3 separate regions of the Homo sapiens genome follow, and all the other regions are linked to region 1. Evidence: promoter capture Hi-C in 16 types of primary human blood cells and fetal thymus (Javierre and others, 2016). All regions are on one chromosome and are shown on one strand. The core of a region is centred on a gene start or on the middle of the fragment in contact, and the rest is flanking DNA. Distances in the headings are between cores, read along the strand shown.

Region 1 (2,808 bases), core at 81-2,580:
ATGTTCATGCATTGTTCTTCCTTAATCATAATTTTAAGATAGAAACAACATAAGTGTCCACAGTAGTAGAGTATGTGTGTACGTATCTCCAATAATTTATTGAACAAATGTTTGCTGAGTGTCTTCTCTGGGCCAGGCTCTTTGAGAGTTCCCTGGAATCCAGTGGTACACAAAACAAACATGTCCACCTCCCGGAGCATGTCATCTAGTTACAATAACGGAAAAGACAGATGATCAGCTAGTTCCACAAATAAGTTAGGTGTTAATGAAGAAAAGTAGAGGATGAAGTAATTGCGTTTTTTTGCCATTAAAAGTAAATGTAACTTTTAATGGCAAAAACTGCAATTACATTTGCACCAACTTAATATTATATTACTAAATAATCAAAGAATACAGTAAAAAGCGGTATGGAAAACATGCTATGAATGTCTATTTATCATCTCAAGAAATGATCTTTTCGCCAAATGGGAGAGTTTTTCGAAAGTCCAGAAATGACCATTTATAAACTATTTACCATTCAACAGAGTGGATACAGCTATAACGACCAAAAACAAGAATGTTCAGAACCATCTCTATCAGAGTACTAAAAAGTAATAAAGATGAAACTTCTCAAGATATAATTTAAATAATACGCAAATATGATCCAATTTGAAAGAGGAAATTTGAAAGCCAAACCTCTCTGATAAAGTCTAAAAATAGAGAGGTATAAAACATAAGGAGGTGTAAGCTTTTCTCTTTCCACTCCACAGTACATTTGACAAAGGTTTACCCTCCTTAGGATTCCTCTTGGAACAATTATAAGAGTCAAATCACTAATGAGTAAAGAAACTGAGCAATGCATAGCAAAAACTTCAGAAAAATCCACAGACTTCGTCAAACTTCTAGAAGTTTAAGCAAGGAAGCAAGTGGAGATATGAACAAAGGTTTATGCCTAAAGATATTTGGGTGTTGTTCTTTCTCAATCATAATTGTGAAATTGAAGCAACATAAATATCCACAATAGTGAAGTATATGTTTACATATTTCCAATAATTCTTGGAGGAGTTGGGGTTTCATGTTGTTGTCTGCTAGACTCAGCAACGCTTTGGGAATACAGATCCTCCACGCCCTATTATTTAGGAATTCTACTCCTGTCATGATATGGTAGGCTAAACTTGCTTCCATGACACTTGGCCAAGGATTATAAATTAATTGCATGATTGAGGAAGTCCCTGGGAAGACCATGCCCACCCCTTGTTCATGCTGGTTGGCTGTAACCATAGCAGCCTCTTACTCCAGACCAAAGTTCAGCTACTGTTAATTTTATGGCCATGTTCAGAGTTCAATGTCCATTAGCATAACCCTTCCTCAGGAAGAGTGAGATTTTATATTTGACAATAAAGTGTTAGACTCCATTTCTAAATACCAGACTTCAAAAGATAAGGTTCAAAAGTGTTATAAGAAGATATTCCTTTTTTTGTCCTAGAGAACTTATTTTCCTGTGAAAATGCCTACCACAAAGAAGACATTGATGTTCTTATCAAGCTTTTTCACCAGCCTTGGGTCCTTCATTGTAATTTGCTCTATTCTTGGGACACAAGCATGGATCACCAGTACAATTGCTGTTAGAGACTCTGCTTCAAATGGGAGCATTTTCATCACTTACGGACTTTTTCGTGGGGAGAGTAGTGAAGAATTGAGTCACGGACTTGCAGAACCAAAGAAAAAGTTTGCAGGTAAATGATAAACTAATTTGAATGAATATAGTGAGATTGAATTAAGGTTTATGTCATTCTATATTTGGGCCAAATAACCATTCAAAAATAATTTCTTTGTAAGTTTTGGGTTAGGCTGAAGGTACAAGCTTAACTCATAATTTTGGAAATTTGCCATGTCATTATTTGAGCTTCCTCGGTTCTCCTTGTGTCTATTAATACAATAGTCTATATCATTCTAGCAGTGGCTGTATTTAAATAATACCTACCAAGTTGACTGACAAGTAAATAAGTAAAAATATGTGGCAGCAATACGGCATTGAATAGCCAGTAGGAACACATGTTTTAACTGTATTGACTGGGTTTTTAGCTGGAGCCACAACCTCTGTCTAGAACTTCACAAGTGGCATCTATGCAGGAAAGAGTAAAATGGAAAATTTATTATCTCTATTTCTCAAGTTCATTTCTTTAACTGATTTTAATTTACCTCCAAAAAATCTAATCGTTGGAAATTATATTAAATTTCCATTAATTTATTAATTGTATATTTGATAGGAATTCCTAAACATTTTTTTTTCTGATTTCTTATATAATAATGCCCTCCTCTCCATGGAAGTAAAATTAAAAGTTCATTGAGAATAATAAGTTGATTTAGCTACTTATTTGACTTTTGAGGTTTGATAACCTACCTTCATGTTTTCTAAATTTAAAAACATTTGTAAATTATGTAACACATTAAGTGGACTTTGTTTTGAACAATGTTGTATGCAAGTATTATACAGGCATTATTGGGTATCATACAGTCATTACCTTTTGACTTATAAATATGCATCATTTTCTACCTTATACACATGTAATGTTTAGTCCTTGTGTAATGCATGAAGAAGTTTGAGTCCTAGACACTAGCTCTAAGTTCTAGCTCTAGTGTGTTTATGACTTTGTTAATGAAACTATTTTCTTAAATCCAAAGCAACCTGGTTATGTTCCCAAGTTATACATTTGTCATTTAGATGTTAGCAAAAGCAGCATCTCCCCTAGCATTGCCATAGCCTTTCAGGGACATCTCCTCTGGTGTCAACCTCAGCTTCCCATAAGGATGGGGAACATTGGCTTT
Region 2 (2,808 bases), core at 214-2,713, 100 kb before region 1:
CACCACTGCCTTCTTTCTCACCCTGTTTGCTGGTGTGCAACACGCAACCACTCACGTCCCAAACCCTCTCTTAGGTGTTTATTTCTATGGTGGAAAGCGATTTTGACGGGCCAGCTTTCGAGATCTTCCTTGTAATCTACTATTGCCTGAATGGGCATCTTTAGCCCTTTAAACTGCCTTTGGTGAAACATAGGTAAAGTTACGTGTTGCCAAGCAACGGAAGCTTCTGACATTGCATGTCCTTCTTAGAGAAGCTCTCTCCCTTCCAAATAATTAGACATCAGTCACTACTCCACGTCCACACTGGGAATAACACAGAGGACTCAACATCATCCTGAAATGAAAAGTGAATCACACTGATTCCTGGCAACAAGATGTCCATGAAATGAATTTTCCCTTAGAAACCAGGCTCTTTAAGACCAAGGCTGGCATCTAAGACAGCAGCATGTAGGCTAGATGGCTTGCTGAACCCTCAAAGAAAGCCCCCCTCCATTTCACGCTAATGCACCCTTTACAAATAGAGGTCAAATCCATTTAGTTCAAGGTGGTCTCCAATACTTTGCGTGCGTGTGTGTGTGTGTGTGTGTGTGTGTGTGTGTGCTCGTGTAGAGTTGGTATAAACATGGACAGAATGCTAAATGAGGCACCTAAGAATGATTAGTTTGTGGCCTGACAATTTTCCTCTGACACTCAGCAAATTCATCATAACTGCAAGCAATGCTTGCTTTAGCCACCTTGATATCCCATCCAGAAGAATTAATCAAATGTTGCAGCATCGTTGGAAAACAGGTTTTCATATCGGTGTTTAAACAACCTATTGCATGATGGTGCTGATGAAATCACAGAAAGGCTTGGATGCTATCCAATTCTAAACCCCACCGTCAGGGTCTGGACAGTCAGCTAAGCCCCAGCTGGGTAATTTTGCGGTGCTATTCTGGATCTGCAGATCCAGATCCCACTCCTCCTCCTAGCTTGCCTTGGCTTCTGGATACATTTAGTAAGAAGCAAAGCACATAACCATCTCCAGGGACGCGGATGGAAGAAAACCAAGAAGACCAGGTAGCATGGGCCACTTGACACTTGAGCCACCTCCCACTATGAGGAACCAGGTGGGTCGGTTTATCTCACAAGTGGACACGGTGCCTTTCATAATTCCCTCATCCTCAGAACTCACTGGGAGACACACTTTGGGTTCTCCTCTCTGAGAACAAAGATGTGTGGATCTGTGAAGCCTGAGTTTGAATGCCAGGGCCTCCTGGCTCTCAGGAGTGGTGGGGGTTGAGCCTCTCTTGCCAGCTGCTGACTCTCTGCCCTGATGGAATAGGCACCACCATGGGACTGGGCTGAGGTCAGATTTACTTTTTTTGGTGGGCGACACCTACAGGTTTATTGACCCGGAAGCCCTCACCTTAGAACGCATCTCCCAGTGACTGGTTCAAAACAAAATCCCTTTTCAAGACACAGAAGTTCAATGCTAGTAGGTGGCTTGGATTGGTGGGTACATCCCTTAGCTCTTAGGAATCCTAGGGATGGGGGCTGGGGAGAGAACTGCTATCAGAAACCCAAAGTGAACTGAAATGTGCAGTCTTGGCCCAGTTTGGGGCCAGTGCAGACCTGGAATGAGGCTCTCCCTTACGTTCCAGCAGGGAGTCAGGAGGACCAACAGCCCCTGCGACATCGGGCTGCATGGCCACAAAATAAAACAAAACAAATGTGGCCACATCAGTGAAAGAAATCACTGAAGCCAGTCTGGTGTTGGACAGAGAAAAATCACTGAAAATTGACTGAGCCACTTGGAGGTGTTAGTTGACTTCATGTATTTATTTATATCCAGCTTGCTCCTAAAAGGATACAAAGTCACGTAAAGACTATTCATTCATGCACCTAAAATTCACTGGGTGCCTCTCTCATGCCAGCACTTGTGCAAGGGGACAGAGGGATGGGATCCCTATCCTATGGGGCCTGCGTTCTTGCGGGTGAGAAAATGGGTAAATACCACAGTTCCAAATACTGGTAAGTGCTTTAATGACAATATAAAGTAAAACGGGGGTACAGAAAGTAACTTGGGGCTGGAAGTTGGATAGGTAACATCAGATAGAGTGGGCAGGGAAGGCCTTTCCAGAAACTAATGATGGAATCAGAGAAGAGAGCTCTGGCTGTGCTCCCCCGGAAAAGAAAGTCCTTCGCCAGTCACCATGGGCAGGACCCTGCAGGGCTCTGACCCTCACTTCTCGTACTCAGGGTGGGCTTCGGGAACACGAGAGCAGAGCAGTGCTCAGGCCCTCACTCAGAAGAGAGCCCCTCATGCTTGGGGTTTAATGCTCTGTAACTGCTACCTTCATATGTCATAAGAATTTTATCTCTGAACTTGTGTTTTGTGAGGGAACTCTGGTGGGGCAATGGGACATGTGCCGGGGTATGACCCCTCAACTCACACCTGGCCCACCTTCTGCTCCATCCCGCTGGGTTCTTGACTGTCCACTTCCTGCCCCGACCAGCAACTGAGACTCCCCCAACTCCTCAACAGGGAGGATGGGGGCTGGATGGATGCCTTCTACCTGCCCAGTTGAAGGCAGTGAGAGTATCCTAGTGCCTGGGGGAATGTGACATTAAATAGAAGGTCACACACACACACGCACACACACACACACACACCACTATGAAAGATCCAGAGAGAGAACACGAAGAAAGGAAAAAGCTTTTTTTCCTGCCTTTTGAACGAGTGACCCCGGGTTTTAAGTAGCCAGCCCTGTTTGTGCTAAGTGCTGCCCCAGGCTCTGTGAAGAATGCAAAGATACAACTGTCTTC
Region 3 (2,808 bases), core at 170-2,669, 82 kb before region 1:
AGCCCCAGAGGGGAGAGCTATGAATTTGTTCACCTCTTGGCGCTGGGCATGGACACTTCTCAGATACTGACAGTCACTGTCATGTTTTTTAAAAAAATCTTTGCCCTATGAGTAGCTTCTTGGCAGGGGATCTAGTGTTTGAGGACAGGGATGGACGGTGTTAACTGCCACCAAGAGAAGACCCTTGCAGAAGAAACAGCCACTGTAAGGACAGGAACTTCATGCCAGACTCCCCGCCAAGCACCCAACAGGGATCACTGCATCCTCTCAATACTCATATGAGGAGTTTGTTATTAGACCCACTTTGCAGAGGGGGAACTGAGGCTCAGAGATATAGGGTAGCTTGCCACAAGGACTCCCCACACTGGGTAGTGCAGTGGGACTTCAGAGCAGCAGTCCTCGAAAACAAGGCCTGTTTTACTCCCCTCTACCTGCCTCGCTCCTCCAATTGGGCTCGGACTCTGAAATGTATTCAGGACAAGCTTGCTGGGTGCCTGACGCTAATGGTAACTGAACACGCTAAAGATGTTTTTCTTGAGCTAATTCCTGTTCAGTGAGCCCCAGAGAAAATGATTGATCTCTAATACTCAGATATGTTAAATCAGTGTTTTCAGGTTTTCTTTTTCAGCGTGCCAATTGGAAACACACCTGCCTTTCACCAGGTGACCCTAGGTCTGCGATGAGGCTAAGCATGTGTGTGAAGGGCCTGGTTGGTGATGATCTTGACACTCGGCTGTCCACGGTAACCTGTGGCCAGAGGCCAGGGCAAAGCAATATTCACTAAGGCAGAATGGATGAGCTCTGGCATTAAATAATTATTCAGAAAGATCATTTTATTATGAAATAATAATAATTATTATTCACGAATAAGGGAAATAGCATGTTTGCTGATGAGATTGGCACGGATAAGAAGAGTAGCGTGTGTTGGTAAACAGCCCTCTGGATTGCTTAACAGGTTTGGAAGCTCACAGGAAGAGCATCAAGTCGGGCAGACACCACGGTGATCCACCTTCTAGAGGCCGCTCACTCACACAACCGTGTCTCACGGGGCTCCAACACAGCACAGTCCCCCTGCTTCCCTCATGCTGCTCCCTGTCCCACAAAGCCTCAGTCTCACCCAAACCCACTAGACGCCAGGTGATCCAGTAGGTCAAGTCCTACTCTCTCCTTGACATCTTTTCTGAGCCCTCTGGGCTGCCCTGGTTGTATCCCTCCTGGTGCCTAGCTGTTCCCCGCCCGCCCCTTCCATCTTTATGTGTCTTCACGTCTCTACAACAACACAGTACAGTAGGACTCTGGATTAACATTAAGGATATTTGCTGCCATTTCAGCTGCCCTATGAGGTGGGGAGGTATGATCCACATTTTACAGATGACGAAGGCAGGTGCAGACCCTCCCCAAAGACAGAGCATCTGTGGCTAATTTGGTGATTTCTGAATAGAAAACCTGCTATCTCTAGCTTGAACATCTTCAGTATATGAAAAGTTCTGTGCATGTACCAGAAACTCATAAAATACTAGTTGAATGAGTACATCAATATGCTAAACCAGCCATTTAACATTAGTGAGCATCTACTATGTGCTATTTCTGTGCCAATTGCTTAGGATTTAGAGATTAAAAAAAATACATGGACAGAACCTCAGCCTCCTTACCCTAAAAGAAGTCCAGAGGACAGGCTTATAAACAGATCGTTGAAATGCAGGGGTGAGCAGTGCTAGGTCGTGGCAAGCCCAGGGGCCATGAAAGATGGAAGCAGAACACTAACCTGTGTTTGGCTAAAGTTAGGTCATCTTTCTCAAGAAGAAAATTCCCAGGAAGAACACATAAACAAAAACCGGGAAGCCAGAGAGTGTATGGAACATTCTGGAAATGGCAAATAAGTTGGATCCTGGCTTTGACCTTGGAACAAGTCACAACAGTTTTAAGCCTAAGTTTCTTCATCTGCGAAATAGAGATAATAAAATTTCCTGCTGGGTTAGTAAAGGAGGTAAGGACCGGACGCAGAACTCAGTATAAGGCCTGGACCCAATAAATCACTGCTGTGAGCCTGGGATGTGTGGTGGGCAGATCCCGGAATGCTGCAGAGACCTTTGGCTTTGGGCTGAAGCCACAAGGGGGCTGCAGAAGTCTGCAAGCCTGGGCATTCCCATTCTGCTCTCTGCAAAGTAGGTCACTGTGATGGCTGCAGAGAAGAATAAGGGGCAGGACCATGCTAAGTGTGGACTGTGGATTCCTGACTAATGAGGCCACACCTGTGGTCCAGATGCAGGATGAACAGGTGTTCTCAAGGGCAGTGGTGGGCGGCCGGGGAGGGGGCAGCCATTTAACAATAGAGGAAGCAGAGCTCACAAGCTTTGGAGGCATGTGAGAAGTGGGGAAAAGGGAAGGAAGCTAAGCGTGACCGTGGGCTTGGCTTGGGGGCCTGGGTGAAGCGTTGCCATCGACAGAGGTGGCGTTCAGGCGCAGAGCTATCAGAAAATGATGCATCCTTCACAGGCATGCAGAGGATATTAGCGAGAGACTAAGAAAATATATTAGCCTGAGAAAAGGGGAGACCCATCCTGAAAACAGATCAATTTTTTTTTTTCAGGAATATGGTACTCAGAGCAGAGACGTTTGTTAGATATTCCTCAGGAAGATTCTGAAAATTAGGAAAGCTGATGAATGAAAAATCTGCCAATCGACTAGCCACTTTGCTGAAACATTTGTAAATATTATTGTTTTAATGATCCTCCACCCCACAACAACTGGCTGATCTGAACCATTTAAACTAGTTCATAAATAAGAATCCCTATAAAATGCACAAAA

Evidence for each region. The method cuts DNA at HindIII sites, captures the fragments that hold promoters and counts their contacts. A CHiCAGO score of 5 or more calls a contact.
Region 2: a fragment that was not itself captured here is called in contact with the fragment with the promoter of CLRN3 in region 1 in 4 of 17 cell types (monocytes, M0 macrophages, neutrophils and 1 more); the score reaches 10.8 in monocytes.
Region 3: a fragment that was not itself captured here is called in contact with the fragment with the promoter of CLRN3 in region 1 in 1 of 17 cell types (monocytes); the score reaches 8.4 in monocytes.

The regions. Positions count from the first base shown.
Region 1 is chr10:127,891,463-127,894,270 of GRCh38, reverse strand. It overlaps CLRN3 (clarin 3), which reads left to right and starts at 1,330. Exons shown (of 3, transcript NM_152311.5): 1 at 1,330-1,715. The coding sequence starts at 1,487. The HindIII fragment of the contact is 797 bases long and covers 730-1,526 here.
Region 2 is chr10:127,993,616-127,996,423 of GRCh38, reverse strand. All of the region lies in intron 2 of PTPRE (protein tyrosine phosphatase receptor type E), which reads right to left. Among named protein-coding and RNA genes, the nearest start is that of PTPRE-AS1, 61 kb to the right of the region's middle. The HindIII fragment of the contact is 2,475 bases long and covers 226-2,700 here.
Region 3 is chr10:127,973,430-127,976,237 of GRCh38, reverse strand. All of the region lies in intron 1 of PTPRE (protein tyrosine phosphatase receptor type E), which reads right to left. Among named protein-coding and RNA genes, the nearest start is that of PTPRE-AS1, 41 kb to the right of the region's middle. The HindIII fragment of the contact is 1,870 bases long and covers 485-2,354 here.